Linked DNA regions of Homo sapiens: regions 2, 3, 4, 5, 6 and 7 are each linked to region 1. Evidence: promoter capture Hi-C in 16 types of primary human blood cells and fetal thymus (Javierre and others, 2016). All regions are on one chromosome and are shown on one strand. Each heading gives the region's core, a stretch centred on a gene start or on the middle of the fragment in contact. The rest is flanking DNA. Distances are from core to core; before and after follow the strand shown. Region 1 holds the start of HAND1 (heart and neural crest derivatives expressed 1). Region 2 has its middle 28 kb from the start of KIF4B. Region 3 overlaps FAM114A2 (family with sequence similarity 114 member A2). Region 4 overlaps MRPL22 (mitochondrial ribosomal protein L22). Region 5 overlaps MRPL22 (mitochondrial ribosomal protein L22). Region 6 overlaps FAM114A2 (family with sequence similarity 114 member A2). Region 7 overlaps GEMIN5 (gem nuclear organelle associated protein 5).

What was found. Contacts are between HindIII fragments. The CHiCAGO score rates a contact against its expected background, and 5 or more counts as called.
Region 2: a fragment that was not itself captured here is called in contact with the fragment with the promoter of HAND1 in region 1 in 3 of 17 cell types (neutrophils, monocytes and non-activated CD4 T cells); the score reaches 8.4 in neutrophils.
Region 3: a fragment that was not itself captured here is called in contact with the fragment with the promoter of HAND1 in region 1 in 9 of 17 cell types (megakaryocytes, neutrophils, activated CD4 T cells and 6 more); the score reaches 7.0 in megakaryocytes.
Region 4: a fragment that was not itself captured here is called in contact with the fragment with the promoter of HAND1 in region 1 in 4 of 17 cell types (neutrophils, activated CD4 T cells, total B cells and 1 more); the score reaches 9.0 in neutrophils.
Region 5: a contact is called between a fragment that was not itself captured here and the fragment with the promoter of HAND1 in region 1, in 1 of 17 cell types (naive B cells). The highest score is 5.6, in naive B cells.
Region 6: a fragment that was not itself captured here is called in contact with the fragment with the promoter of HAND1 in region 1 in 7 of 17 cell types (total B cells, activated CD4 T cells, megakaryocytes and 4 more); the score reaches 10.6 in total B cells.
Region 7: a contact is called between a fragment that was not itself captured here and the fragment with the promoter of HAND1 in region 1, in 4 of 17 cell types (neutrophils, activated CD4 T cells, total B cells and 1 more). The highest score is 6.3, in neutrophils.

The regions. Positions count from the first base shown.
Region 1 is chr5:154,476,227-154,480,207 of GRCh38, forward strand. It overlaps HAND1 (heart and neural crest derivatives expressed 1), which reads right to left and starts at 2,001. Exons shown (of 2, transcript NM_004821.3): 1 at 1,240-2,001. The coding sequence starts at 1,782. RefSeq lists enhancers at 1-675, 3,449-3,958 and a silencer at 3,925-3,974. The HindIII fragment of the contact is 6,833 bases long and covers 1-3,981 here.
Region 2 is chr5:154,983,790-154,987,770 of GRCh38, forward strand. No RefSeq gene overlaps it. Among named protein-coding and RNA genes, the nearest start is that of KIF4B, 28 kb to the right of the region's middle. The HindIII fragment of the contact is 769 bases long and covers 1,277-2,045 here.
Region 3 is chr5:153,993,463-153,997,443 of GRCh38, forward strand. FAM114A2 (family with sequence similarity 114 member A2) reads right to left here. Exons shown (of 14, transcript NM_018691.4): 13 at 1,457-1,510. Among named protein-coding and RNA genes, the nearest start is that of FAM114A2, 43 kb to the right of the region's middle. The HindIII fragment of the contact is 4,597 bases long and covers 1-3,981 here.
Region 4 is chr5:154,965,008-154,968,988 of GRCh38, forward strand. MRPL22 (mitochondrial ribosomal protein L22) reads left to right here. Exons shown (of 7, transcript NM_014180.4): 7 at 1,679-3,981. The coding sequence ends at 1,890. Among named protein-coding and RNA genes, the nearest start is that of MRPL22, 26 kb to the left of the region's middle. The HindIII fragment of the contact is 3,432 bases long and covers 135-3,566 here.
Region 5 is chr5:154,941,167-154,945,147 of GRCh38, forward strand. MRPL22 (mitochondrial ribosomal protein L22) reads left to right here. Exons shown (of 7, transcript NM_014180.4): 2 at 51-99. Among named protein-coding and RNA genes, the nearest start is that of MRPL22, 2.1 kb to the left of the region's middle. RefSeq lists an enhancer at 1-6. The HindIII fragment of the contact is 2,390 bases long and covers 871-3,260 here.
Region 6 is chr5:154,026,352-154,030,332 of GRCh38, forward strand. It overlaps FAM114A2 (family with sequence similarity 114 member A2), which reads right to left. Exons shown (of 14, transcript NM_018691.4): 5 at 3,138-3,229; 6 at 1,798-1,932; 7 at 825-983; 8 at 48-171. Among named protein-coding and RNA genes, the nearest start is that of FAM114A2, 11 kb to the right of the region's middle. The HindIII fragment of the contact is 1,248 bases long and covers 1,061-2,308 here.
Region 7 is chr5:154,917,168-154,921,148 of GRCh38, forward strand. It overlaps GEMIN5 (gem nuclear organelle associated protein 5), which reads right to left. Exons shown (of 28, transcript NM_015465.5): 11 at 2,800-2,936; 12 at 764-837; 13 at 1-12. Among named protein-coding and RNA genes, the nearest start is that of GEMIN5, 19 kb to the right of the region's middle. The HindIII fragment of the contact is 1,651 bases long and covers 1,204-2,854 here.

The DNA.
Region 1 (3,981 bases), core at 751-3,250:
TGGAAGGGAGGGGTGGAAATCCACGGTTCTCCCGCTCTCGCTGCACCCCACACACTTCCGCCAGCCTCCCAACCTGGTTTAAACATCAGGGCTTGGATGCAGGCTTGGGGCCCCCTAAGCCGGAGCTGGGAGCCTCAGATACGGAGGTAAAAGAGCGGGGAGTCGAGCTGGCCTAGCGTCCTCCTTCCCGCTCTTTCAGCAGGAACCAAGCGGTGCTACTTGAAGGAGGCGGCGACGCGTGGGGGCCGGGATCCGCCCAATAACAACTTCTTTCGAGGCGCCGCACCTCGAAAGAAGCCGGCCTGCACCATCCCCAGTCCGGGGCAGCCGTTTAGAGACTCGATGCCTATTTATCTTTCCCTCGTCCCTGGATGAGCTTTCGTCAGTTTACCACAGGCCCCCGCAGGTTGGATAAACCAGGTGGGGCGCTTCAGCTGGCTCCACTCCGCTACGGCCTTAAGCCCCCCAACCTAGAGAAACTGATTGGCCAGCCTGAAAACCCAGCGCTCAGAAGCCCCCAGCCCCGGACAGCCAGACCGAGTGCCAGGAAGTGTCACCCTAACCGGAGAGGATCAAGAAGGCCAAGACGAGACTGCGCTCTCCAAAGCTAAAAGAAGTGGCTCTTATTTACATGCAAAGCCACTGAAGTCGTCCTCAGAACCAGTCCATGGGGAGAACCAGAACTGGCCCTGGACTGAGTAGAAGACCCGATCTGTTTTACCTCACCTCCACCCTGGACTCCTCAGATAGGTGCTTTTCCTGCCCCGACCCACTCTGGGCCCTCAGTTTCCCTATTTATACAATGATGGAAGTAGACTAGCCGGTCCAGCAAAGGCCCTTTGAAAACAGGAACCGAGCCCGGGCACATAAATTCAAACTCAAAGTAAAGAACTTTAACACATATTCTTAACCTGGCTTCCAGGAGAGCCCAGGAATGAATCAGGACTTCTCCAAATTGGAAGCAAAACCTGTGGTGTGTGCATTTTTGGAGGGTCCGAGGCTCCAAACAGATTATTCACTCAGTATTACAAACACTCTCCCGTATTACAAATGAATTCTATGACGAATCTGCCTCCCTCCATGCACAGGATCGCACGCTGTGACCAACCATCTCAGAACTCTTCCCAACCTTTCCAAATCGGACACAGGACAACACAGCCTCCTTCGACTACCTGCATGGCCTGAGGCTGCTCACCGCTCCTGCACCCTTGGCTGGAGCATGCAAGCCCCAGGACTCACCAGCTCCCTTTTCCGCTTGCTCTCACGGCCGCCATCCGCCTTCTTGAGTTCAGCCTTGAAGGCCTCGGGATCGCCAGACTGTGCATCCTTGGCCAGCACGTCCATCAGGTAGGCGATGTAGCTGGTGGCTAGGCGCAGAGTCTTGATCTTGGAGAGCTTGGTGTCGGCCGGCACGTTGGGGATGCACTCGCGCAACTCCGCGAATGCGCTGTTAATGCTCTCAGTGCGTCTCCGCTCCTTCTTGGGTCCTGAGCCTTTCCGCCGGCCAAGACGGCCGCCAAGCGCCTCCAGCCGCCCGGGGCTCTGCCCAGGCCTGGCGTCAGGACCATAGGCGGTGGCGGCTGCAGCGGCCGCGGGCGGCGGCCCGCCCGCAGGGAAGTCCGGGGCAGCGTCAGCCGGGCTCAGCAGCCAGCTCTGGAAGTAGGGCCTTTCCTGATGACAGCGCGAGGCCGGACCGAAGAGGAAGGGTTCGTGGAGCATGGGGTGCGCAGGGTGCGGGTGGTGATGGTGGTGATGGTGTGCGTAGCTGCCCACGAGGTTCATGTTGGAGCGGCTACTGGCCTGCGCCGCCAGCCCTATTAACGCCGCTCCATGCGCCCCAGAGACTGCCGGGGGCCACCTGTGGGCTCTGGAGCCACTACTGGGCGCCGGCTTTGGGAGAGTCCGGGCAAGGCTGAAAATGAGACGCGCAGCCCACTGTCTTCTTACCGGTTTCTGCCGCGGGCGAGGTCGCCGAAGCCCAAAGACCTGTTTAACCCTTCTGCGGACTCCCCTGCGGATCTGGCTTATATAAGACCGCGGCTTTGATGTCAACCTCTCCCGGGAGCCAATGGCAGGGGGGCGGGGATAAGGAAAAGGGGGAGTGGCTATCCCAGGTTTTACGCTCAGCCCGCGCCACTCTAGTCCGCCAGCAGGGACTGGGAACCGGCCCCGCCTCTGCCCCTCCCACTCAGCTCCCTGCTCTGCGGGCTTAGGGGGGCGGGCTGCTGGGGGTGTTGAGGGGGCGGGCACGGGGACTACGTACTTGAGGCACAGGACGGCCAACGCCCTGGACTGTTGCTGCCACCCCCTCCCCACGGATCCAAGGAAAGGAATCCAGAATCACCAAGCGAAAAGAAGGCCTACACCTAGAGCCCGCCTTTTGATTTTACAGACAAGGAAACTGAGGCCCAGGGAAAGAAAGGTTCTTGTTTCTAGACTGTCTAGAAGTCTAAATAGGAATTCCAGCAGTTCCCAGTCCCGAGCTCCAACTGCTCTGCTCGGCGTCAGAGCTAGAAGATGAGAGGGCGCTGCTGAAGACAGGATAGGCCGCTAACGTTCTTCCCTAACACCTTCCAGCCCTCCGCCCCCACCCCCACCCCTTAGTCATCGGCCCTTTCTGGAGAGACTGGGAGCCGCTTGTGCACGGGGTCGTTACCAGCCCGCCAATTCTGACCCAGCCTCAGGCAGACGGGCACGCAGCTACTGACCAGCGAAGAAGCCTTTCGGAGGCAGGGGTAGGGGTGGGGCGGGAAGGAGGAGGCGGACTCCAGGCCCACGGGCATCGACGGGTTTGTTCCCGGCTTGAGGGTCTGAGATCCACTCCGGCCTCCCGGGTGCCTGATCCATTCCGAAGGCCAGCCCGGCTGGCGCAGAGACAGTCTGGCGTCCGCCTTGGGCCCGGGGCATCTGGCCAGCAGGTCTCCTCTGGTCTGTCCGCAGGACTCGCACCGAGACCTGGGAGCGCGGCTACGTCGGGCCGCTCTACCCAGATCATCACTCCTTAAGAATCTTTGGTTCTTTAAAGACACCGGCCCCGAAGCTCACACCTCGAGACACCAGCATTCGGCGTTAGACACACGCAGAGGGGACCAAGACTGCACAGCATCCGCGAGGCTCGCACAGGCAAACGCGACGTCCGGCATCTCTCACGCATCAGCGCAGAGGCGCGACTCGGCTGCACGACCCTCCGAGATTTCACCCCGGGGGTAGGGCCATTCCCTGCCAGCCGGACTCTCTCCACTGTGGGCTTTCCCCAGGCTCGCGTTGGAATCTGGGAATCCCGGAGTGGTGACGCTTCAAGCTGGGGACTCTCGGTCTTACCTCCCGCTGTGGTTCCTTTCTTGGCCGATGTCCACCTACCTGGGTCCCTCATTCTCTCAACCTTTCTCAGCTCAACGCCCCCTCCCTCGGTGTGGTAGAGGGAGTGTGCCTCTCTTCAAAGCAAAGTCGAGGGGAGGGGGAAAGGAGAAGTTAATGTGAGTGCTCTTTTTAGAAGGCAAATCATTCACCCATTCATTCAACAATTATTTATTGATGCCTACTATGTGCCTATCATAGTTACTAGTCCAAAGACAGAGGGAGAAAGGCCCATTCTCTCCTTGAACAGATATGGAACGTGAAGCCCAGAGAAGAAGAGCGATTTTCTCGAGGTCCGGTAGGGAGTGGATGAGTGGAATTCCACTCCTGGACAAGAGAGTGAATGAAGGGTGGGGGGTTACATACAGGAGTGACGGAGACAAAAGCCTGGGCCTGCTGGTTCCACCTGTGGGAGCTCAGCAGGGCTGTGGGCCCTGGAGGTGCATGGGGGGGTGGTGCAGGGAGGTCCTGGTTTCCTGCCCGAGGCGGGCTGGAAACCCCCCGCTCTCCCCGGCGCCTGGCGCCAGCAGCGCTGGGGTAGGGCAGAGCGCGGAGCCGGAGGCACGCGGGGAGGGAGCGCTGGGGGCCCGCTGCTGCGGCGGCTCTGCGGGGTCCCAAGCCTCC
Region 2 (3,981 bases), core at 411-2,910, 510 kb after region 1:
AACTTATTCTTCCTGTCAAGCTGAAACTTTGTACCCTTTGACCATCTATGCCTCTACATTTACTTTTTTGAGGAATCACCACACCATTTTCCACAGTGTTGTACCATTTTATATTCCCACTAGCAGTGCACAAGTGTTCTATTTTCTCCACCTTCTTGCCAACACTTAGAATTTTGTTTTTCTTTAATCATCATCCTAACGCATGTAAAGTGGTACCTCATTGTGATAAAACATTAACATTTTTAGATATTAAATTTGAGATGCCTGATAGTCACAGTTGGATATTTCAGCCAGGATTTCAGAAGAAAAGTCTTCTAGTCAGTTTGAATTCCATCAATGAAGGTGTGCAGAGAACTCTTATGAATAACTCATCATGGCCAGCTCATGCCTGTAATCCCAACACTTTGGGAGGCTAAGGCTGACAGATCACTTGAGCCCAGGAGTTTGAGGATAGCCTGGGCAGCATGGCAAATCATCATCTCTACAAAAAATATAGAAATTAGCCAGGCATGGTGGCATATGCCTGTAGTCCTAGCTACTCAAGAGGCTGAGGTGGGAGGATTGCTTGAGTCCAGGAGGTTGAGGCTACAGTGAGCTGAGATGGCACCACTGCAGTCCAGCCTGGGTGACAGAGTGAGACCCTGTCTCTAAAATAAAATAAAAATAAATACCTAACTCATCATAGTGGACCTCCCATGTTTGTTCTTAAGACTTCCTACTCCTACCAGTGTGTCCACTATTTGAGGATGTGAACATTTGGGTATTTGAGTTCATTTCTGGTGAACAAATAGCATTTTGCACCAGGTTCTTGTCTTTCTAATCCATGTTGTTCTCACTCCTGTGGAAATTAATGAAGAATAATTAAATGTCAGATGCAAGTAAAAGTGGTGAAAAGCTTCAGAAAGTAAGAATTTATTGTCTTTTTCTTGGTAGGTATAGCTAGCTGAATTCAAGTAGTTTTAATAATCTTTTAGAGTGAATGGAAAGCATTTTTGTTTGTTTTTCCTTTTTTTGTAACAAAGAAAATTCAGTTTTAAAGTGTTTTTCAATTTCTCTCTGAGCTTTCTTTCATTCTCTGATTTCTTTGCTTCTCAGTGGGATAATATAAACCAATTTTCTGTTGTCTATTATTCATCAAAGCTGTCGATTTACCCTGAACAGAACGAAGAGAAGGATATTATTAAAATAAAACAATTTCCAATTGAGCTGCTAATAAATGCTGAAATGCATCTACATTTCTCCTATTGATTATCTCCTGCTGACAAAGGCAAACACAAGCTTGTATGGCAGGCTGCCCGTGGAAATGAAAGATTTAATTAGATGAAAACCGAATGAGCTGGAAGATCTACTGCACTCAGTCAACAAGCGATTGTTATTCATAATTGGCTGTTTAAAATGTCCCTGCTTATTGAGCCTTTTTCACTTAAAAAATTCCCTACAGTGCATTAAGATGAACGAAATCGTTAGTAAATTTTCCCCTGTGCATTCTGCAAGCTCAGGGTTGTGGACTAGAATGAGCCCTGTCAGGCCATAAATCAGGTGTAATACAACATCTTGAAATTGGGAACTAGCAAGCAAAAGCAGGGAGACAGTTTCCTCTCTATGTAGCCGTATGTCCAAGTGCTGAAGGTGGAAAAAGAGACGCTAGTGGAAGAGAGGTAAGAAGAAGCCCAGAAACTTAGGGAGTGGGATTCTTTAGAACTCACTAGCTCTGCAGGTGCCTGCATTTAAAATTTAGTGTCTGATAAATGCACTGATATTTAGTGAGGGGAGTATATTACAAAGTCGGTATTCATTTCACCAGGAGGATTTCAGATACCTCTCAAGTTCCCTGCTCTTCAAGACACAGTGGGGAAAAGAAAGATGGATGGAATTGTTGCCTGTGGCAGCCACGTGCCATTTAGCCTATACAAATGTTCCTTCTTGGAATCCCAAGCAAGTCATGAACGTTTGAAGGCTTTGGTTTCCTCATTCACACAATGGGGATATCGATTGCACTGTTCTAATCCATTCGCTATGAGGATTAAATGAGATAATGTAGGTAAAGCTTTTAGCACAGTGACTGGGAACATATAAGCCCTAAATGACTGTCAGCTATTCACAATAATAATTCACCTTCCACATCTATAGGCTCTTGAGGAGAAGACAGTATTTCCTCTGTTTCTTATATTTCCGATAGCATCTTGCCCAATGCCTTACACTTCTGCTCTCCATAAAAATTTTTGAATGAAAGCGAATGTCAATCTCTCAATCTTGAGGTTCTTAGAGATTCACATAGGAGTTGACCATTGTTCAACAAATACATGTTTAAAATCTGACTTTTAAATAAAATTTTAAGAGACAGGGTCTCACTTTATCACCCAGGCTGGAGTGCAGGGGCCTCATCTTGACTTCTCGGGCTCAAGGGATCCTCCGGTCTCAGTCTCTCAAGCAGCTGGGACTAAAAGTGCATGTCAACATGCACAGCTAATTTTAAAAAATTGTTTCATTTTGTCTTTCTTATTGCAAAAGAAGTGACAGCTGCTTCTTGGCAGAGACAGTGAAAACAGTGGTCAAGAGGGCAGATGTGTGGGAGCCAGACTGCCTGAATAAGCATTTCTTTTCTCTCCACCAATGGAACGATTGGATTGTAGAGGAATAAATAAATTAATACACATACAACACTTGGAACAGTGCCTAGAACATAGCATGTGCTCAATAAATACTAACTAGCATTGAACAAAATACAACAAAAAACAAGAGATCACTCATTCTCGGGATCTTGAGATAACTGCTAAGAAACAGTTATTGAGACCATACTATGTGAGTGACAGAGTGCTAGGCATTGTGGGACGTATATATTAATAGCCCACTGATTGAACTCTTAGTGATATCAGGCACTGTGCTCAGTGCTTTGCACATATTGTCTTATTTAATTCACACAACAATCCTACGAGGTAGGCATATTATTATCCCCTATTTTTGAGATGAGAAAACAGGACCAGAGAGGCTTGGTAACTTCTCCAAGGTCATACAGGTGGTAAATGATGGAGCTAAGATTCAAACACAGGTCTCTTTGATTCCAGAGTTAACCTTTATGCACATCCCTAGAAGCCTGATACTAAGTTAAGATGAGGCAGCCCAGATGAAAGAGACAAACATGACCTAAGTGAGGTGGGAGAGCCGGCAGAGGACAAAAAATCAGACAATTGTAATACATTTGCTCCATGCTATAACTGTGACTGTTATAATTAGGCCTCAGACACTTTCTTAACACAGTGATTTGGACATTTGAACAAAGCTGGCACATGAGATGAAACCTTCTGCCATTCCTAGCACAAGCTTTGTATTAAATACAGACTTAAGAAACTCAGAGGGATTCTTCTGAAAAACCTTTATGGAGTTCCTAATGACCAGGTCTGATTCTTCATGTCATATTACGCTGCATTTATGTGGCATCAGAATCTTGAGGCTAGATTTTTTTTTTGAGACAGAGTTTTGCTCTTGTTGCCCACGCTGCAGTGCAGTGGCATGATCTCGTCTCACCACAACTTCTGTCTCCCAGGTTCAAGCGATTCTCCTGCCTCAGCTTCCTGAGTAGTTGGGATTACAGGCATGCACCAGCATGCCCAGCTAATTTTGTATTTTTAGTAGAGATAGGGTTTCTCCATGTTGGTCAGGCTGGTCTCGAACTCCCGACCCTAGGTGATCCGCCTGCCTTGGCCTCCCAAAGTGCTGGGATCACAGGCATGAGCCACTGTGCCCAGCCCGAGGCTAGATGTTTTTTAATATCTGGCCCCCTTTAGTCACCACTCCCATATAAAAACACTATTATGTTAGTTCTTGTTTCTCAAGTGTAATCTTGAATCAAGTGGAAGAGATAAACAACGTCAATGAAAATATCTTTTGCAGACACTGGCAGGATTTATCCTTTTGGAAATGAGATAAAAGATGCATAAATGTTTAATTTTACTTTTGATGTTAATGTAACCATTGAGCACA
Region 3 (3,981 bases), core at 979-3,478, 480 kb before region 1:
TTCAGAAGGCTATAAATCCTACACCTATAGAATTTCTAGCCCATTATGATAGCTCTTTTTCCATGGACTCAATGCGATCAGTGAGCACAATAACTGCTCACACACATAAACATCTTTCACACATATACTGCTTTCAAAGATGACAGTATAGATATATTTCTATCTTGAACAACATTTTTCAGAAGTGTTAGAGAATCATTACCCTCAGTTTGCTGGACTTCATTTATACTGAAAAGCCCTCACCTTTCAAAAGAATATCAACAGAGAGCTCATTAAGATAAAAATGTATAATTTCGAAGACAAGAGTGTTTCAAATCTGTATCCAAAAAAAAAATCCACTAAAAATAATAGGGAGCCCATATCAAGTGATATTACCTTTTTAAAATTTATCAATGGCAAGTACTATTTAAAATTCAGTGTGACATTTAATACTCAATTTCCCACACAAAAGGGACCTCAGATATCGTCTAGTTAAATCTCTTATGTTGCACATGAAAATAACGAAGTTTGTCAGAGTCACACAACAAATCAAGGAAGATCCAGGGCAACACGGGGCTCCTGGTTTACAAAGTCTTTTCTACTGCACCACTCTGCCATTTACTAAATCACAAACTTATATTTTTAAAAATTATTACAATGATCAAAATAGTTTCCCTGACTACTTGATTAAAACTGTGTAATTAAAGAATTAAAATCATTTCCTTGATGGTAATGTCAAAAGAATTTAAAACTAGAGAAGTAAGAGTTTGGTAGTTAAAACATTTTTTCAATTAACATCTAAAACTTAACTATCAAATATATTTTCTCCCCCCAGACTTACATAAACATGTTTTAAACAAATCATCAAAAAGTCTATGTTGTCTGCACAGTTAGTTTACAAGGTAGAGTTCTTAAAACATGGAATCCAGAAAACATCACATAGGGAGGTAATATAATCAGTCACAGGATCCTCTTTTCCATTGACTTAAACCATCTACCTTCTCAAATCTAATGGAATGATGAGGATAATGTAAACACTACCTTTCTGACAAAACAAAGCATGATTTCCTGGCAAGGAAATGACAACATGTTTTGTTTTGTAACAAACCTCTGCATAAACTTTAGTCCTAAATTAGGAAGCAGTGCTTACCTGTTTATAATTTTCAGCCCTTCATGTTTACCAGCTGGTATTCAGAAGGTGTTTCATTACTGTGAACCGTCCATTAAGCTGTCAAGGATTAGTACTAAGTAATGACAATCTACTGCTTCTTCCAGTACCCTGCAGCTTCAACTGTATGCTTTCTAATTAATAAGGAAGGAATACACATCAAATATACACTATTTCTGTCATATCTACATCAATATGGCTAAACTACCAATATGGTGAATAAAATAAAAAAGCCAAAAGCAAAAGGCTTCAGAAGAGTTAATTATACGTAATACCTTTGGAGTCAGAGACTTAAAAACAATTACTAACCTCTAGAAATACTGCAGTGATTAATGGGTTAAGGACATCTGCCATTTCTTTGACCTGGAATAACGAATACATTTTTAAGTGAGCAGAGTAGGTTAAATAACAGTAAGTGGAGTACGATCACACTTTAAAACACACACACACACCCATACATAAATATTAAATATAAGCACAGAAGTCTGGACTGAGAGCAAAATGTCATCTTTAGAATGGAAATTCTAAGTGTTTTAAACTTCTTTCTTAATATCTTTCTGTGCTATCCATATTGACAGTGTATTGTTTTATACCTTTTTATTGACTTTAAAAAGTATCTTCATTTGACCACAAAACCTTAGAACCATTTTAAAACAAAACATGTAGATATGGAACATGTGCTCAAAAAACTCAAGGGTCTTTAACACAAGCTGTTTAGAAAAATCTTACAAATAAATAATGTAAATTTAATACTTGTATGTGTCAGCATCTTATAGTTGATATGCTGGCTTAAAGTATCTTTATGGAACACACAGAAAGATTTGGCCTTGTAAGATTAACTTCAGGAAACCCAGATCCTTTTGTCAAGAAAATACTACAGGGAAAAGTGAAGCTGTACCAAAAGATTATCCTTTACAGGAATAATCTAAACTCAAATTTTAAAAAATTAACTTAGGCCATGGTCTTAATTAAAACAAATGTAATGTTCATGACTAGGGCTTTAAAATAAATAAATAAATAAAATTTAAGAACCCACAGTAATTTTGCTGCTACACTGACACTGATATACTTACTATAAAGTAATTTTCATTTGCTTGTTTAAAATGCTCTTGATTTTATCCCAACTCATTATTACTGGTTTCTCAATCATCTTCCATAGCTCACACATCTTCATAAATTTTTACAATTCCAATTTTTAAAATCCCCAAAAGACTTTAGCTTTAACTACTTCTCTCCCACCGGCTGGCAACTGCATACTGTGAGCACTGCCATAGTCTAAGTACAGAGTTGCTCTTTAAAACCAGAGTCAAAATCTGAAGTTTGAATTTTATCAAGGTCTATATTTCCATTATAGGTCTCAGAAGATAGCATAAAAAATACTGAAAACTTCATAAACAGAAGAAAACAAAAATTAATTAGAATTAGACATAGACAAGCTGATCCTAAAAGTCATATGAAAATGCACAAGGCCCCAAGCAGTCAAAAAATCTTGAAAATAAGAACAAAGTTGGAGGACTTACACTTCTTGATTCCAAACCTACTACAAAACTACAATATCAAGACGATATGACACTGGCATTTGGATAAACATACAAATTAATGGACTAAAAATCAGAGTCCAGAAACAAACCCATATATCTATGGCCAACTGATTATCAACAAAGAAGCCAAGAGAATTTAACGGAGGAAAGAACAGTCTTTTCAACACATAGTACTGGAACAAACGGATATCCATATGCAAAAGCATGAAGCAGGGCCCCCTACCTTACACCATACACAAAAATTAACTCAAAATGGATCACAGACATAAATGTAAGGGCTACAACCAAACTTTTAGAAGAAAACAGAGGAGTAAAATTTCACTGCAAAGGACACGATCAAAAAGCGAAATGACAACTCATGGACTTGGAGAAATACGTTCCCATCAAAAATCTGATAAGAAACTTGTACTAGGAAAATTAAAAAAAAAAAAAAAAATCTCCTACAAGTAATAATAAAAACACAAACAACCCAAGTTTTAAAACAAGTAAACTGCTGAAATAGATATTTCTCCAGAGAAGCCAGACAAATAGCCAACCAGCACATTAAAAGATGTTCAACATTGGCGCTGGGCACGGTGGCTCATGCCTGTACTCCCAGCACTTTGGGAGGCCAACGCAGGTGGATCACCTAAGGTCGGGAGTTCGAGACCAGCTTGGCCAACATGGTGAAACCCTGTCTCTACTAAAAATACAAAAATTGGCTGGGCATGGTGGCAGGTGCCTGTAATCCCAGCTACTTGGGAGGCAGAGGCAGAAGAATCACTTGGACCCAGGAGGCAGAGGTTGTAGTGAGCTGAGATCATGCCATTGCACTCCAGCCTGGGTGACAAGAGCAAAACTTAAAAAAAAAAAAAAAAAAAGAAAGAAAGAAAAAAAGATGTACATTAGGGAAATGTAAATCAAAACCACAATGAGATACTATTTCATACCCACTAGGATGGCTAAAATAAAAACAAACAATAAGTATTAGCAAGGATACGAAGAAACTGGAACCCTTACACACTGCTGGTGAGAATGTAAAACTGTGCAGCCAATTTGGAAAACAGTTTGGTAATTCCTTAATGACCCATATCACCCATATGACCCAGCAATTCCACTCCTAGCTATCTACCCAAGAGAAATGGAAACATATTCACATAAAAACATACATGCATGTTCATAGCAACATTATTCATTATAGCCAAAAAGCAGAAATAATCCAAATGTCTACTAACTGATGAACAAATAAAATGTGATATATATCCATAAGACAGATTTTTTGGTAATAAAAAGTATTAATACATGCTACAATGT
Region 4 (3,981 bases), core at 601-3,100, 490 kb after region 1:
GGAAATTTGTAAACTCATTTTTTCAGTGCCCACTAAATGAAGTTAATAAAAGGGCAGTAGGTCTTTCCCTATCTCACTTAGACCCTAGGCAGTTTTCACTTTCATTCTTGGCTTTCTCTTTGGCAAAGCTAGGAAGCTTCTGCTGAAACCCACTTCACTAGAGGATATCGTAGTTAGAGAGTTGTCAAGTGCATACTTTGGTATAGTCCCTATATTTATAAAGTATGTCACAGTAAGTGTATAAGAATGATGAGTGTTGAAATGGATAATTTGATATGTATTCTGTAGATTTTACCTTTTTAAAAGGCTTATTAACTAAACAAGTAGCTGACTAAATACATTCAGAAAATAGTAGAAGGTAGATGGCTACTACTCTGACTTATTGTGGGTGAACAGGTGAACAGTTCTTCTTATGTACTATTTTTTTTTTTTTTTTGAGATGGAGTCTTGCACTGTCACCCGGGCTGGTGTGCAGTGGTGGATCTTGGCTCGCTGCAACCTCTGCCTCTCGGGTTCAAGCGATTCTCTTGCCTCAGCCTCCCAAGTAGCTAGGATTACAGGTGCCCACCACCACAACTGGCTAATTTTTTGTATTTTTAATGGAGATGGGGTTTCACTATGTTGGCCAAGGTTAAACTCCTGACCTTGTGGTGATCCGCCCGCCTTGGCCTCCCAAAGTGCTGAGATTACAGGTGTGAGCCACCGCGCCTGGCCCTTACATGCTATTTAAAAGATTTCTTTACACTTTCAAGGTCAAATTTTGATATACAGAATGGGGGAGGGGAGCTGAAGGGGCCGTTGTGCCAGAGTTCCTAAAACTGGCTGTCAGTCAGAATTTCTGGGGAGAGTTGGGGTACGGGTGTTTGCCCAGGATGTAATTTCCAAGGCCCACCCCAGATATACTGAATTAGAATCCACAGAGGTGAGGTCTCAGCATCTGCATTTTAATTACATTCCCTAGGTTAGTCTGATGTAGCTTGTCAGAGAACCAGCATTTGGGAGCCATTGACTCCAGTGGCTTCTCATCACAATTAGAATAAAATAAAAAACTCCTTGCCTGAGCCTACAGGACCTTGTGTAATCTTGCCCTAGCTTTATCTCTAATCTCTTTTCCTTGTTTGTGCTTCTCTTCCCCTTGCTTACTATGCTTCAGCATGGTAGTCTTCTTTCTTTTCCTAAAACAAGCCGAGTGCATTCCCACCATTGGGCCTTTGCACTTGCTGTTTCCTCTGCCTGGAATACCCTGTCCCTAGATATTCAAATAGATGATTCATTCTGCTCTTAGATCAAATGTCTCTTTCTCAGGGATGCCTCTTGACACTCCCAGTCTGAAGTCCCTTACACCCCATCATTGTCTGTCATCTCATTCTGATTTATTCACAGCACTTGTCACTAGCTGAAATTATCATTTTATTTTACGTCTTTCTTCTCCAGAATGTAAACTGCTTGGAGGCAGGGGCCTTGCCAGTCTTGTGCACTCTTACTTCTCCAACACTAGAATAGTGCCTGGTCCTTAGTTAGCATTCAGGAGATAGTTGTTTTGAGACAAGCCTGCTCTAGCCAACCAGTGAGCCCATGTAATCTCAGAATCCAGTCAAGGAAAGGACAGAAATTGCTCAGCTGATCAGGCTTGTGGATAACACTCATTTCCTGTAATTCTCTTTTTCTTCCTGTTTAGCTGAGTCCACCTCAGGACGAGGCCAGTGCCTGAAACGCATCCGCTACCATGGCAGAGGTCGCTTTGGGATCATGGAGAAGGTTTATTGCCATTATTTTGTGAAGTTGGTGGAAGGGCCCCCACCTCCACCTGAGCCACCAAAGACGGCAGTTGCCCATGCCAAAGAGTATATTCAGCAGCTTCGCAGCCGGACCATCGTTCACACTCTATGATGAGGAGATTCAGACTCCACAGTGTATATATTTTGCCATTTATTTTCTAAAAATAAACAAAAATTGAAGGCAAATGCTTTTTATGATTTCTCATTGAATTATTGAAACAGTGTATAACTGCTAGTTGTAAATGAATATTTATAAGGCTTTGCCCATTTCTTTTGAGCCTCTGGGCATATTTGTATGCATTTGCGACTTGGAAGGGGAAATCAGCTTTAAACATAGTAACAGACTATATTTCAAAAGGCTTTTGGAGTAACTTTGAAAGGGAATGTTAACTTTCCAACTAGTGTCCTGCAGGTGGCTGTTTTGATACTGGACTTGAATACAGTGTTATGAGGTAAGAAAATTGCTTTTATTTCACTTAATTTTCTCTTGGGACCATGGGAAGTTAGAGTGGCTGCATGTTGTTTCATTACAGTATTTTAGGGTGTTCAGTGGTACCGTTTTTCCTTTCACTGTTGGCACAGGCCAGTGAGTCAAAAATTATATTTTCCTTTACTGTTTTAGCAGTAACTCGAAACTACAGGAGTTTATTAGATATACGAATCTAAAACTCCAAAAACCTTTAACTTTGAAAATTTTCTTTTGGTTAAGCAAAGCCTGTTTTTATTTCTTCTTCCAACAGTGCTTTATATTGTTTGGATATCTTGTTTAGGATTGATTTATTTTTCAGGGTAAATTCAATTACTGAGAGAGGAATTGAACCAATCTCAGCATTGCATTCTAAAATGGGGCAGTAGGTGGCACTCAACCTTTTATTAGCAGAAAATTGTTAGTTTCAAATTAGAGTGTTCAACACTGCTTCCCTCTCATTCATACACGTCTTCATTAAGAAGAAGTACTCTTTGTCTACAGCCCTAGTCCAACTTTTGCATGCAAAAGAAGAATCGAGGATGCTTGCTTGTTAATGCAGACTTCTGGGCCCCACCCCAATGATTCAATTCACTAGGTCTTATGGGGGGCTGGTTTCAGAAATCTATGTTTTAAACAAACACTTCCAGGTAATTCTGTTGTAGGGGACTACGCTTTGAGAATACGGCTTTAGGAGAATGAAAAAATGTAGTTTTATTGCCATGTTTTAAGATGGCATTAATAATAGTTACTGTTTACTGGGAACTTGTTATTTGCAAGCTCTGTGCTAGTATTTTACATAATTCTTCACAACATCCTGAAAATGTAGCTTTTGTTTTACCACTTTACAAAGGAATAAACCGAAGCACACAGAATTCAAATAACTATCACAAGTCACACAGCATGTAAATATTGGGGCTATGATTGAAAGGTTTCTAAAGTAGCTGGTTCTGCATACCTTTTGAGTATACAGCTGGGTTTTTGTGTCTCTCCAGTTAACCTAATGCATGGGTAAAAAGACATCAGGGGTCAGTGGAATAAACCAAGGTGTAGGACAGATTCATTCTGGGTCCTAAGCTGTTGTAGCATGGAGTCAGGGAAATAACACTGGAATATTAAAAGGTAACCTTCATTCTAGTCTGTGCATTCTCATTAGCCAGAAAGAAGACTGGATAGGTCTCTTCCCTTGCTGGCCTCCATTTCATTCATTTATGAAACAAGAGACTCAATGTTCTCTGTAGAAAACCTTTTTTAGAATCACTTGAAGAATTTGTTTAAAAATGCAAATTCCTGGGCTCTACTCTCAGACTAAGTGAATCAGAAGCTTTGGTGTGGGAGACCATGGAACCTGCAGTTTTAATAAATGCCCCAGTGATTTGCATGTTGGAGAATTATCACACCAGGTCACTGTGCTCTCATGTGGTGGGGATGCTCCACGATTGCTCTTGGAGTTGTGACTTCCTTGGGTGTGACTAAAGCCAGGTGGTGCCATGGACATCATAAATATAAATTATGTAAGTGAAGGCACTGCTTCAGTCAGGCTGTAAAAGCTATTTTGAAAGTGGTAAGGAAAAAGTAGGATTGTAATGAAGAAAATTTCCTTCCCAGGTTAAGCCTTCATTTGGAACTGCTTCCAGTACGTTACAAAAAGTAATAATAGCTAACCTGTGTCACTGACTGTATCTGGTACTATTTTAAGCACTATATATACATTATCTCAATGAATCTTTCCCATTG
Region 5 (3,981 bases), core at 816-3,315, 470 kb after region 1:
GAAGGGAGTCGAGATGGAATCTGAGTTGACGGCTTGTGTTGATGTTGCAGGTGCGTTATGGATACATAACCTGAGGAGCCGGGGGAAGCTGGCCTTGGGGTGAGTCTCTCGCTTCGGAGTTTCGGAAGGGCCCAAGGCATCTTTAGTATTCTGCCAGTTGGTAACTGAGCGCCTCCGTGCCTAACTGTGTTTTAGGCTCTGGGGTTACTGAGGCGAATGAGACAGCCCGAGTCTCTGCTTTGTCACTCTATTTTTTCTCCACCTTATTGCATAAACTGTACAGGGATCAGGATTACCCATAACCCAAGGGCGATTGTAAATGCGATTTCCGAACGTCTACTGTGATCTTTCTGGACAAGGTTAGACTATTCCATCTCCATATGGAAGCGTCCAACTTTTCAAGTTACCTCTCTGATTACTTGCTTACATGGGCAGGGACCGTGTTGTGGACAACTCTGCTTTACGTCGTACCTGACATTGTGTTTAGCGGTTTATATGCTTTAACTCACTCTCATAACATTCTACGAGTAGGTTCTGCTATACCCGTTTTTCAGACAAGGAAATTGAAGTCCCCAAACGTAAAATAACTTGCCTAAGGCCACTCAGTTGTAGGAAATTTTGAAGCTTTATACCAGAGCATTCTGTAGCCTTAGGACAAAAGCATTCATTAAAGGTTAGGGTAAGTAGTCGCTGTATTTCTCCCCAAAATAAAAAATCGGTATTTGAAAATTGATAATCTGATTGTAAATTTTCTGGTCTGTCCATTTGTTAGCATTGATTTTGGTTTAGTTCATAGGCTTTGCAGACAGATGAGTTGTATATGAATCCATTTTTTAACTGTGATCTTGGAAAAGTTACTTATTCTTAATAAGCTTCAGTTATCACTTTTATGATATGAGCGTTATGTTAGTACCTATCTCTTAGGATTTAAAAAATTTTTTAATTTTTATTTATTTATTTTTTTAGATGAAGTGTTGCTATGTTGCCCATGCTGGTCTCAAACTTAAGGGCTGAAACAATTCTCTTGCCTCAGCCTCCTGAAGTACTGGGATTACAGGCACATGCCATCTATGTAGCTCTAGTAGATTTTAAAAAGGAAATTCAAACAAGATAATGCATATGAAGTATTTAGTATGTTTATGGCATGTGATAATCCCACTCTGAATTCTAGTTGCCATTAATGTTTTTATTATTATAAATTATTACTGAGTTCCCAATTATATTTAACCCTTTTCTAAGTTTTTGGGTCCGAGGGGGATAAAGAGGTGGGCTAAAGAAGAAAATAGGAAGTAGTAGCTCTTAGGATTTGTCTGTACTCTTCTTAGATAATCTTCTATCACTCTTCCCCCAACCATGCTGATTTACTTACTTTTTCTGAATATACTTTGCACTTACTTGCTTCTTGGCTTTTCCTACTATGCCCTCACATCTTGTCTATAACAGCAGTCCTACCCATTATTCAAACCTCTGTTCAGATGTTTTCCCTTCAGGAAGTTTTCACTGGTTTCTCTAAAACGGAAAGAAATTAGTTTTTCCTTCCTTTTAGCATGTGTGCCTTCTATGATGACTTCATGTATATGTGTATGTGCCCTTTACTAGCTTGTGTATCTTGGAGAAGTAGGGACATTTATTTATTGTTGTACCTCCAGCATAAGGTCTTACACAGGCAAGTATTTTGATGTTGATTTGAATTGTCTTGCACCAACTTGTATTAAGAAGCTCTGAGCAAGAAACTTAAGCAGTTTGCCTTTAGTCTTTTCCTCTATGTCATGATACAAGAGTGTTTGATTTTGCTAGATAATCTCTAAGGCTATTTGCAATTCTGAAGTTATTACATAATTTTGTGAATCCTTATTTTGGATTTTCTAGTGGGGAAAATGACCATAAGAAAACTAAGTAGAAAGGTATAAATAATGTTCATGATAACCATGTAAAATTTTAGCATATAATCTGATTCAGTGATGAGAAACTTTTTTTTCCTTTTTTTTTTGGAGACACGGTCTCGCTCTGTGCCTAGGCTGAAGTGCAGTGCTGTGATCATAGCTCACTGCAGCCTCAAACTCCCGGGCTCCCACCTCAGCTTCCTAAGTAGCTAGAACTACAGGTGCATGCCATCACACCTGGCTAATTTTTAGGGTCTTGCTGTGTTGCTCAGGCTGGTCTCTAACTCCTGGGCTCAAGTGATCCTCCTGCCTTGGCCTGGAGGGATTACAGGCATGAGCCGCCAGGAAACTTAATTGCATATAGGCCCCAGACTAGAAATAAATAAACTAAGGGAAGTTGTCTATGTAAAATGAGAGTGGGAGGGCCTGTGGTGGTCAGTAGAGTGTATTCCTCATCTAAAAACATTGAATTAGGTTAAGAAAACTGCTGCTGACCAAATAAAACATTTCTGCAGGATATATATATATATACACACATATATGCACATATATACATATATACACATATATATACATATATACACATACATACATGTATATACACACACATATATATATAGATATTAAAATTTTTTTTTTTTTAAAGACAGCGTTTTGCTGTGTCACCCAGGCTGGAGTGCGGTATCATGATCATAGCTCACTGCAGCCTCGATTCAAGCCATCTTCCCAACTCAGCCTCCCAAGCAGCTGGGATCACAGGCGTGCACTACTACACCTGACTTTTTTTTGAGTTTTAGTAGAGACAAAGTCCTGTTATATTGCCCGGCTGGTCTGAAACTCCTGGGCTTAAGTAATCTCCCACCTCAGTCTCCCAAAGTGCTGGGATTACTCTGTAGGCTATATTTGTTAGCTGACTGACAGTTTTCAGTTTTTGAATTCCAAGTCTCCTATTTTACTGATGCATACATTTGAGAAGTTTTGTGACTTACTGAAGGTTACACAGTTAAATGTCAAAGTGAGGATCTAAACAAAATATTTTCTGGGACTACAGGTGCAGGCCGCCATACCTGGCTAAGTTTTGTATTTTTAGTAGAGATGGGGTTTCACCATGTTGGCCAAGCTGGTCTCAAACTCCTAGGCTCAAACGATCCGCCCGCTTTGGCCTCCCAAAGTGCTGGGATTACAGGCATGAGCCACCACGCCCAGCCAAAAAAATATTTTTTTTTAGGAGACAGAGTCTCACTATGTTGTACAGGCTGGTCTCGCACTCTTGGGCTCAAGTGATCTTCCCACCTCAGGCTCCCGAGTCTCTGGGATTACAGACGTGAGCCACCAAGCCTGTCTGTACCACCCTTTAGATGGGGGCATATCCTCTTAAGCTTTCCTCAGTTTCCAACCATGTGTAAAATTTTGGCATAGTTATTTACACTCAGTCCTCTTACCTTACCTGTCTCTGTATTCTTTCATTGATTCTACAAATATGTATTTAGTGCCTGCTCTGAGCTGGGAACTATTCTAGCACTGAGGATTTTGCAGGGAACAGGAACAGACAATAATCCCTTGCCATTGTGGGGTGTACAATATAGTAAGGGGGGCAAATAAGCAAAATAAGTAAAATATAGAGTATATTAGATAGTGACATCTGCTTATGAGAAAATAAAGCAGAGATTGAGAATAAGAAGTATGTGTGTTTGAGAGAGGAACTTGTAGTTTTAGATAGGGAAGGCCTCACTAAAAGATAATCTTTGAGTAAAGATTTGAAGGAAATGAGGAAGCATGCTGTGCTAACATCTGAACAAACAGCATTCTGTGCAGATAGAATAGTAAGTGCAACAGCTCCAAGGAACCATATCTGGTGTCAGGAACAATGACAAAAAGGAGAGGGATAGTGATAGGAGATGAGGTCAGAGAGGAAGGGGCAGTCATAAATCATATAGAGCCTTATTATTTTTTGTAAATACTTTGGCTTTTATTCTGAGCAAGATGGGAAACTGTTGTAAGGTTTTGAGCATGGAGTTATATGATCTGACTTATGTTTATGAGTGGTTCTTTCTGGCTGCTGTGTTGAGAATAGACTGGGGTGGGGATGGGGAGCAAG
Region 6 (3,981 bases), core at 435-2,934, 450 kb before region 1:
CAAACACACTGCATCCTCTCCACTCAGATACTAAATTTTCATATTACCTTTTTTCTCTTCTTCCTCTTCTTCACAAAATTCTGCTAGAGAAAATGTTTCTTTGAGTTGCTCTAATTCAACTTTTAGAGTCTCTAATTCTTCTCCACTCAGAGAATTAAGGATAGATTTCACCTGAATGGATACAAGAACAAAATGTTGTAGGAGTATGAAAGAAAAGAAAAACATTCACAAATAGGGAAGAGACTATAAAAAGATCATATTGAAGTCAAAATTATGAGCTCATCAGCCAGCACAAGTTATTCCTTAAGAACCTTAACACAAGAGGCTGGTTATGACAGAAAGGTAGGGAGACTCTGTGCTTCTAAAAGTAATACCAGCCAGAAATTCCTGGAAATTATCAGTGTTTAGCAACAGCTTAGAAATAACAAAAAAATTAGATAATCTTAAATCAATTAAAAGCTAACAGGTAACTGTACACAAATTGGCAGCTCAAGTCAACAGGTTTCTTGGCAGCCTAGGCCAAAGAAACTAAAAAAAAAAAAAAAAGACCAAAACGAAGGAAAAATAACACATGTCCTATTAAGACCTCTTTGTTAACCTTTTTTGTTTAAATTTAAAGAAATAATACTTGACTAATTCTGCTTTTAGCAATTAGTTCAATCAAACATTAGTTTTTAAATTTATTTTGTGGTAGTATTTCGAAGGCATCTCAAGCCTCTAACAAAACATACACTTCATCTTCCAAATGTACAAAGAGAAAGGAAACCATGCAGCATTCTTTTACTTGAAGACTTTTTCCAGTTGAGATTTTGGCTTGGAATTACCTTTATTTCACTTTCTTGGGAAAGCATCTCCAGAGCTTCTAGATGTGAAAGGCCTTGAAATTCATCAAAGAGTAGCCCATAATGAGTTTTCTTGTCTGTTTCCACGGTAACCTCATTGGAGGTCCGTATCTCTTCTTTCTCCTTCGCCTCTCGTAAAACCTAAAAAGAGATGGAGGCATTACACTGTAGCAAACAATGAGAGCTCAAGGGTGAGTTCTGAGAATTGAAGGAAGCAAAGCTTAGACAGGTTAGAGTACAGAGGATTGCCCTTTCATTCTTGGCACTGCTATTCAAATCTGGTGGGCTCAGGAGCTGCAGAAAGAAAAACGATCACACATAATTTGAGACGGAGTTTCACTCTGTCACCCAGGCTGGAGTGCAGTGGCACGATCTCTGCTCACTGCAACCTCTGCCTCTCGGGTTTAAGCTATTCTCGTGTTTCAGCCTCCCAAGTAGCTGGGATTATAGGCATACGCCACCACGTCCAGCTAATTTTGGTATTTTTAGAAGAGACGGGGTTTCATCATGTTGGTCAGGTTGATCTTGTACTCCTGACCTCAACTGATTCACCTACCTCGGCCTCCCAAAGTGCTGGTATTACAGCCGTGAGCCACCGTGCCTGACCACATAATTTGATCCTAGACAGTGCAAATCACACCCAAGGAACCAGGTGTTTCTCTGAAAGTGATTTAAACATTAAAACAAACAAACAAACAAACAAAAAACCCTGACAGGGTTTAGCATTTTGCACTGCACTGATGGGAGGCTCCTGCAGAAAGAGGAGGAGAAAAAGAGCTGGGTATTTTTGTAAGCAGTAGAGCTCTCACCCATCCCTGATCCCCCCAAAAAAACGCCTGAATAAACATTATTGAAAATGCTTGAAAAGAAAACACTAACAAGGTTCCAAGTAAACAAAGGCAAAAATACAGATCAAAACAGAAACAGGAAGTAAACAGGTAAGGATAATCAGTACCTGAGATAGTGTAGCATTTCGGTTCATCAGACCCTTGGTTCTTTTAAATCCAGGATCCCCTTCTGCTATCACATCCATTGTCTTTTTTCCAATGAATTCTAAGGCATCCAAACCCCCACTTATAACACTCTTTCCCTAGAAAATACATGCAACCTCATTACAACAATATTAAGAAAACATATTTTTATGCATTTTTATTATGTATTTATTATATAAAAATAGTGGCTAACAATACCAAGCACTGGCAAGAATGTAAAGCAAATGAAACAATCACACACTGCTTGTGGGAACGTAAATAGGTATAACCACATTAGAAAACTGTTTGTCAATATCTACTCCAGCTGCATGACCCAGAAATTCCACTCATGGTTACATCCTAACAGAAATAAGTACAGAGGTTCATCAGAAGACATGCACAAAAATGTTCATAACAGCTCTGCTTGTAATAGCTACAAACTGAAAACTACCCCAATGCTCACCAACTGTGGAATGAATAAATAAAACGTGACAAAGCTTCACAATGAAATACAACAAAGAAAATCAAATCTACCACACAAACTGCAGCATAGGTAAATTATACAAATATAATGTTGCATGAAAGAAGTTAGATACTATATATGATTCCACTTATGTAAAGCTGAAATGCAGGCAAAATTAACCTATGATGGTGGAAGTCAGGATTATGGTTATCTTGGTGCAGGAGAGGGGGAGAGCAGAAGACACAGAAAACTGGGAGAGGACACAAGATGGTGGGGAGATCTGATTACGGTAATACTGTTTCTTACTCTGGGTGTTTCACACTGAAAATTCAAACAACACTTGTTACATTCTTCTGTATGTATATTTCAATAAAAAGTTAAAATTTAAAAAAAACTAGCTATCTATCCTCATGTAGCAAAGATATTTAGCTTCCTAGATAATCCTCTTACAAATGTTTTTAATCATACATAGTTTTGCAAATATCTGTCATAAAGATCACATTTCCCCTTTGCCTAAAAGATGCAACTATGAGAAAAATATTTTTGTAAAGTAGACATTTTTTAGGGCCACCAAATTAAGAATTCCTAATCCATAAAATAATACGTATATTGCCTCTCTGTAACTCCTACTCCCTTATTTATTGCTACTCCTTTATTTCCTACTTTCTTCCTTATTGCTTTAATGAAAGTTTTCAAGTAGCATTCACTCCACCCATAAGACCAAAGTGACCGATCTTCAGTGGCTTGGACTCCTTTAAAAGTAATCAGTCCACATGGCTGTTCAAAGAAAAGAGAGAGAAAGATATGCAAACCCATTATAATAATGGAAAGGAACAGACCACCTTGCACTTTTTTACTTACTGTGCTCTGAACAGCAGTAGAGATGGTAGAGAATACACCAAATGCCCCAGCCACTGGGGAGGAGTTTTCATTCTCTTTGGCATTTGTCTCTCCTACAAGAGGGAGGGGATGTGTAAACATGAAGGGAAGGTCCCTTAACTCTCAGGCTTTATTAGCATCTATGTGAATTTTTTAAAACTAGACCCTGCTTACTACATACTAGGCCTTAGCCCTTTTTATCATTTTAAACCATTTGCTTATTTTAAAATGAAAGCTAAGATAGGCAGTTTTCATTTTCTTTTCATTTCGAAAATAAAATCCAGTTTTGTAAACAAACTGCTGATATATACAACAGCCTATATGTTGTATGATTCCAATTATATAATCTTCTGGACAAGGTCAAACTGTAAGGTCAGAAAACAGATCAGTAATTGCTAAGAACTGAGAGTAAGGAGAACAGTGACTACAAAAGGACGTGAGAGAACCTTTTTGGGGTAATAAAAATTTTCTTATGTCTCAATTATCAATACAGATATAGGAAACATTCTATATATCTGTATTGATCATTCTATATAGAATGTTTTCTATATCTGTATAATCACAGTGTACTATGATTACACAGTATAAACAGAAGTATATATACTGATCAAAACATGTAAAACTGTACACCTAAAAAGAATAAATTTTACTGTGTGTAAATTATAATTTGATAAACCTGATTTTTAAAAATCCAGTCTATTTTAAATTTTATCCTAGAAAATTATGATTAGTAGAAATCAAACAGACATACATTACAAAGATAGGTATGTTTCAAAACAAAAATCCATTAACTTAAAAATTTCACATAGGAGAACAACCATTATAC
Region 7 (3,981 bases), core at 779-3,278, 440 kb after region 1:
ATTTCTATTGATCTGGAATAAGAAACACATCAAAACAAGAAAGATGGATGATCAAATTACAAGTTACAATGCAAATAGTAGCTCCCTCATTCCGTCAGTCAAGGAAAGATGAGGTGGAAAAGGATAACCCTTTCTATCACTGCAAAGGTCATTCTCTCATAAAAAATCAAGTATAAAAAGTTATTCTCCAAAAAGTATATTTAGCTTTTAAAAATTCTAGCAATATCCTAACAATTCTTTTCTTAAAAAAATTAATTTTTAGAAATTTTAACTTTCCACACTACCTCAGTGTAACAATCTCCTAGCATTCTAACAATGCTTGATAAAATTGTGTTCATCAGGCATTAATGACAAATGATGATAGGGAGAAGCTAAAATAATTAACAGATCAATGGCTGAATTATGACTGTGTTACTATGATTAACACTGGTCAGGATACAGACCTAAAAAGCATTTCTGACTAGGCTTACTTTAAAAAAATGGAGATTTATGCAGTTCAACATAGGAGGTGACCATTTTGTGAGGGACAAGACAGCCAAAATACAGTGTAGCCAAATACTCTCAATGGGCTGAAAATATCTAAATAATTCTGTAGTTCTCAAAGACACAAGGCACTACTGGATCAGCGGAGGATATCAAGAATAAATCAAAATACCAAATACAACTGGGCCGCCCCAGCTAACATTACAGATGGCATTAGTCAGCTTGTGATCAAATATATGTGCGATTGCAAATTTTTTATCTTAAAGAAGCAAATACATACCCATCTTCATTGCCAAGAGCCATGATTTTGCCATCTGCTTTCCAACTTATCTCTGTGTGTACAGGCAATTTGTACTAGAAAGCAAAACAAACCAATCTTGACTATATACATATCTCACAAATCAGCAATGACAGCATGAGAAAAAAAAATCCCTAGAGTTTAAAAACGTTTTAATTATACAACAGCTATTCTTGTAAATAATCTACATAATTAGTAAAAGGATTACTAAGAACATGCATTCTAATTCTCATTTCCTAACTGGGCCAAAAAAACAAAACAAAAAAACCCCCAAGGCCAATAAGTACTAAATGTTTACAGTGCTTAACCTTGTGAAATATATACTTAATTAAACTGATCTGTGCCCATCAGCTTGGACAATGTGGGGACCATGAGGCCTTAAAGAAAACTATATACACTCTCCTTGTTTTCTATCCCTTCAAAGCTTCTTTCCCTGAATCATTTCCCTCCCATATCTATATGCTGGTATTCCCCAAGGCTGCCTGGGCCCTCTTCTCTTGTTAATTGTCTCTTTAACCCACCTCATACATGTCCACAGCTTCTTCAACTATCTTTATTGTGAAGGGATTCAAAATTTCTATATCCAGCTCAGACTCCTAGCATGAACCTCTGATCCACACATTCAAGTGCCAATAAATTAGAAGAGACTTAGGAACACGAATTTTGTCTCTTATTCATTGCTGAATGTTAATGTTTAGATAAAATTAAAGACAATGAGGGAATATAATCAACAATATAACCCAATTTATAACTAAATGTTACTTTTATACTAGCCATAAAAGTAATGAGCAATAATATAAAAATGCTCATTTGGGCTGGGCATGGTGGCTCATGCCTATAATCAGTACTTTGGGAGGCCAAGTGGGGTGGATCACTTGAGGCCAGGAGTCCGAGATCACAGCCTGGCCAACATGGTGAAACCCTGTCTCTACTAAAGACACAAAAATTAGCCAGTCTTGGCACGTGCCTGTAATCCCAGCTACTCAGGTGGCTGAGACATGAGAATCACTTGATTCCAGGAGGTGGAGGCTGCAGTGAGCTGAGATCGCACCACCGCACTCCAGCCTGGGCGACAGAACAAGGCTCTGTCTCAAAAAATAAATAAGTAAATAAATAAAAATACTCATTTGAAAGGGTAAGGAGGCCAAAGCAGGTGGATCACTTGAGCTCAGAAGTTCAAAACCAGCCTGGCCAACATGGTGAAACCCCATCTCTACTTAAAAAATACAAAAATTAGCTGGGCATGGTGGCCCATGCCTGCAGTCCCAGATACTTGGGAGGCTGAGGCAGGAGAATCTCATGAACCTAGGAGGCCGGAGGTTGCAGTAAGCCAAGATCACGCCACTGCACTCCAGCCTGAGTGACAGAGTGAGACTCTGTCACACACACAAAAAAGGGTAAGGAAATAAGGAAATCTCAACATTTAAGGTATGACTTTAAAAAGACAGTTCTGGCACATACTGATAGCATGAGAACACAAATGTAATTAAATGTGGGAATCTGGGTAAAGGATATAAGCAAATTATGTGTATTATTTTTGTAGCTTCGTGTAAATCTAGAATCATTTTACTAGAAAATTAAAAACAAAATGACAATTTTGTCTTGAGTAAAACACCATGCAGTTGCATTTGGATACTATATTATTGTTATTTTTACCACAGCATCACTTTGGTGAAAGTGGTTGGCCTGAAAAGGATGCTTTATACATAACACCTGAAAGTTTATAATAAATCATTGTTGCAATTGAGACAGACCTTTTTTTCAGTAGTTCTTTTTTGGCTTTTTTATTTTTTTGCCTCATACTCACTGTCTGAGAAGTACCTCTTTGTTTTATTCGAGGATAAAGACTCCTAAGATATATAACTCACAAATTCATGCACAGCCTTATAAGAACATTTAAGAAATCTGACTTAGTATGATGATGGTAATCTCCAATAACAGCATTTATTTTGCAAGATGGGAAACACAGAGGGATCTGTGATGTAAAAAGAAAATACTTCAGGACCACAAGAACTCACTTTGATTGAATTGGTGTCCCTGATGAGTTTGTTGATGTCAAAGGCTTCTCCACTAAGCTTCCAGGGATTATGCTGTAAGACAATCCCTTCTCCTCCACAGCTGTATAAAGCAAGGGAAGGTCTGTCTCCTTCTCCTCCTGTATGAAATAAGAAAAGAAACTTATCAGTTTTGTACTTCATCAGCTTAACTATTTGTTGCTATAGTATGACCATACCATACTACATAGTTGTTTTAAAAGAACTATATATTTGAAACATTCTAATACATTGGAATAAAATCACTGTTCTTTCCACCTGAACACAGTTGTTGGGAGCAGAAGTAAAAAAACTATACTACTATAATTCTAGGTTAATTTATGTGATGTAACATATTTGCTTTAAACAGTCTTCTGGTATTCATAATAATAGGGGTCCAAAAGCTGGGATCAGAAAACAAACATATATGTTCTCAAAAGCTTCTGAGAATTTGCTTTTTCTTCCAGAAATGAGTACTCTTTGGGAATTACATAGCACAGTAGGACTTTCTATGTCTTATAACAAAGAGATGTCATCAAAGCAGTGATTTCCTTAGTATCACAGCAATCTTCTTGTTAATTTTTAAGAAGCAAACAGTAATTCTGGTGGGTTTCTATAAGAGCAAGTTTTACTTTTACCACTGGTAGATCACAAATCAAATACCCAGTAAACATTTGTTGCATAAATGAACTACAAATTCCAATGCTACTTGAGTTCTGATAAATCTACTTATCCTCTCTATGTAATGCAATTCCTATAGAAATTTACAGATGTTTCATCATAGATGGTTAAGAAAAGTTTATCAGAGACTTTTGATGAATACACTTATGTAAAAAGCTAATAGAAAAGACTCATTACTTTAGGAATAAGAAAAAGAAAGACAAGGCTGAGGGGCTAGAAGAGGGAAAGGAGCAGAATGCTGAATCAAAGGCAAGAGATCATTTCAGAAACTCTAAGTTTGCTTTTCCTGTGGGTGAAAATAGATATTATTCCATTAATATACTGAAGTATCATTCTAATTCTGATAAAATTAAAAAGAGACAGCAAGTTTTAGTGAAGAATATTAGACTGGGTATCAGGACCCAGCATGATAACTATACATACAATGAAAAATTTCAGATCAAATAGAAGAACAATGCTTTAGTGAGTTTGGGGAAGCTTATTATG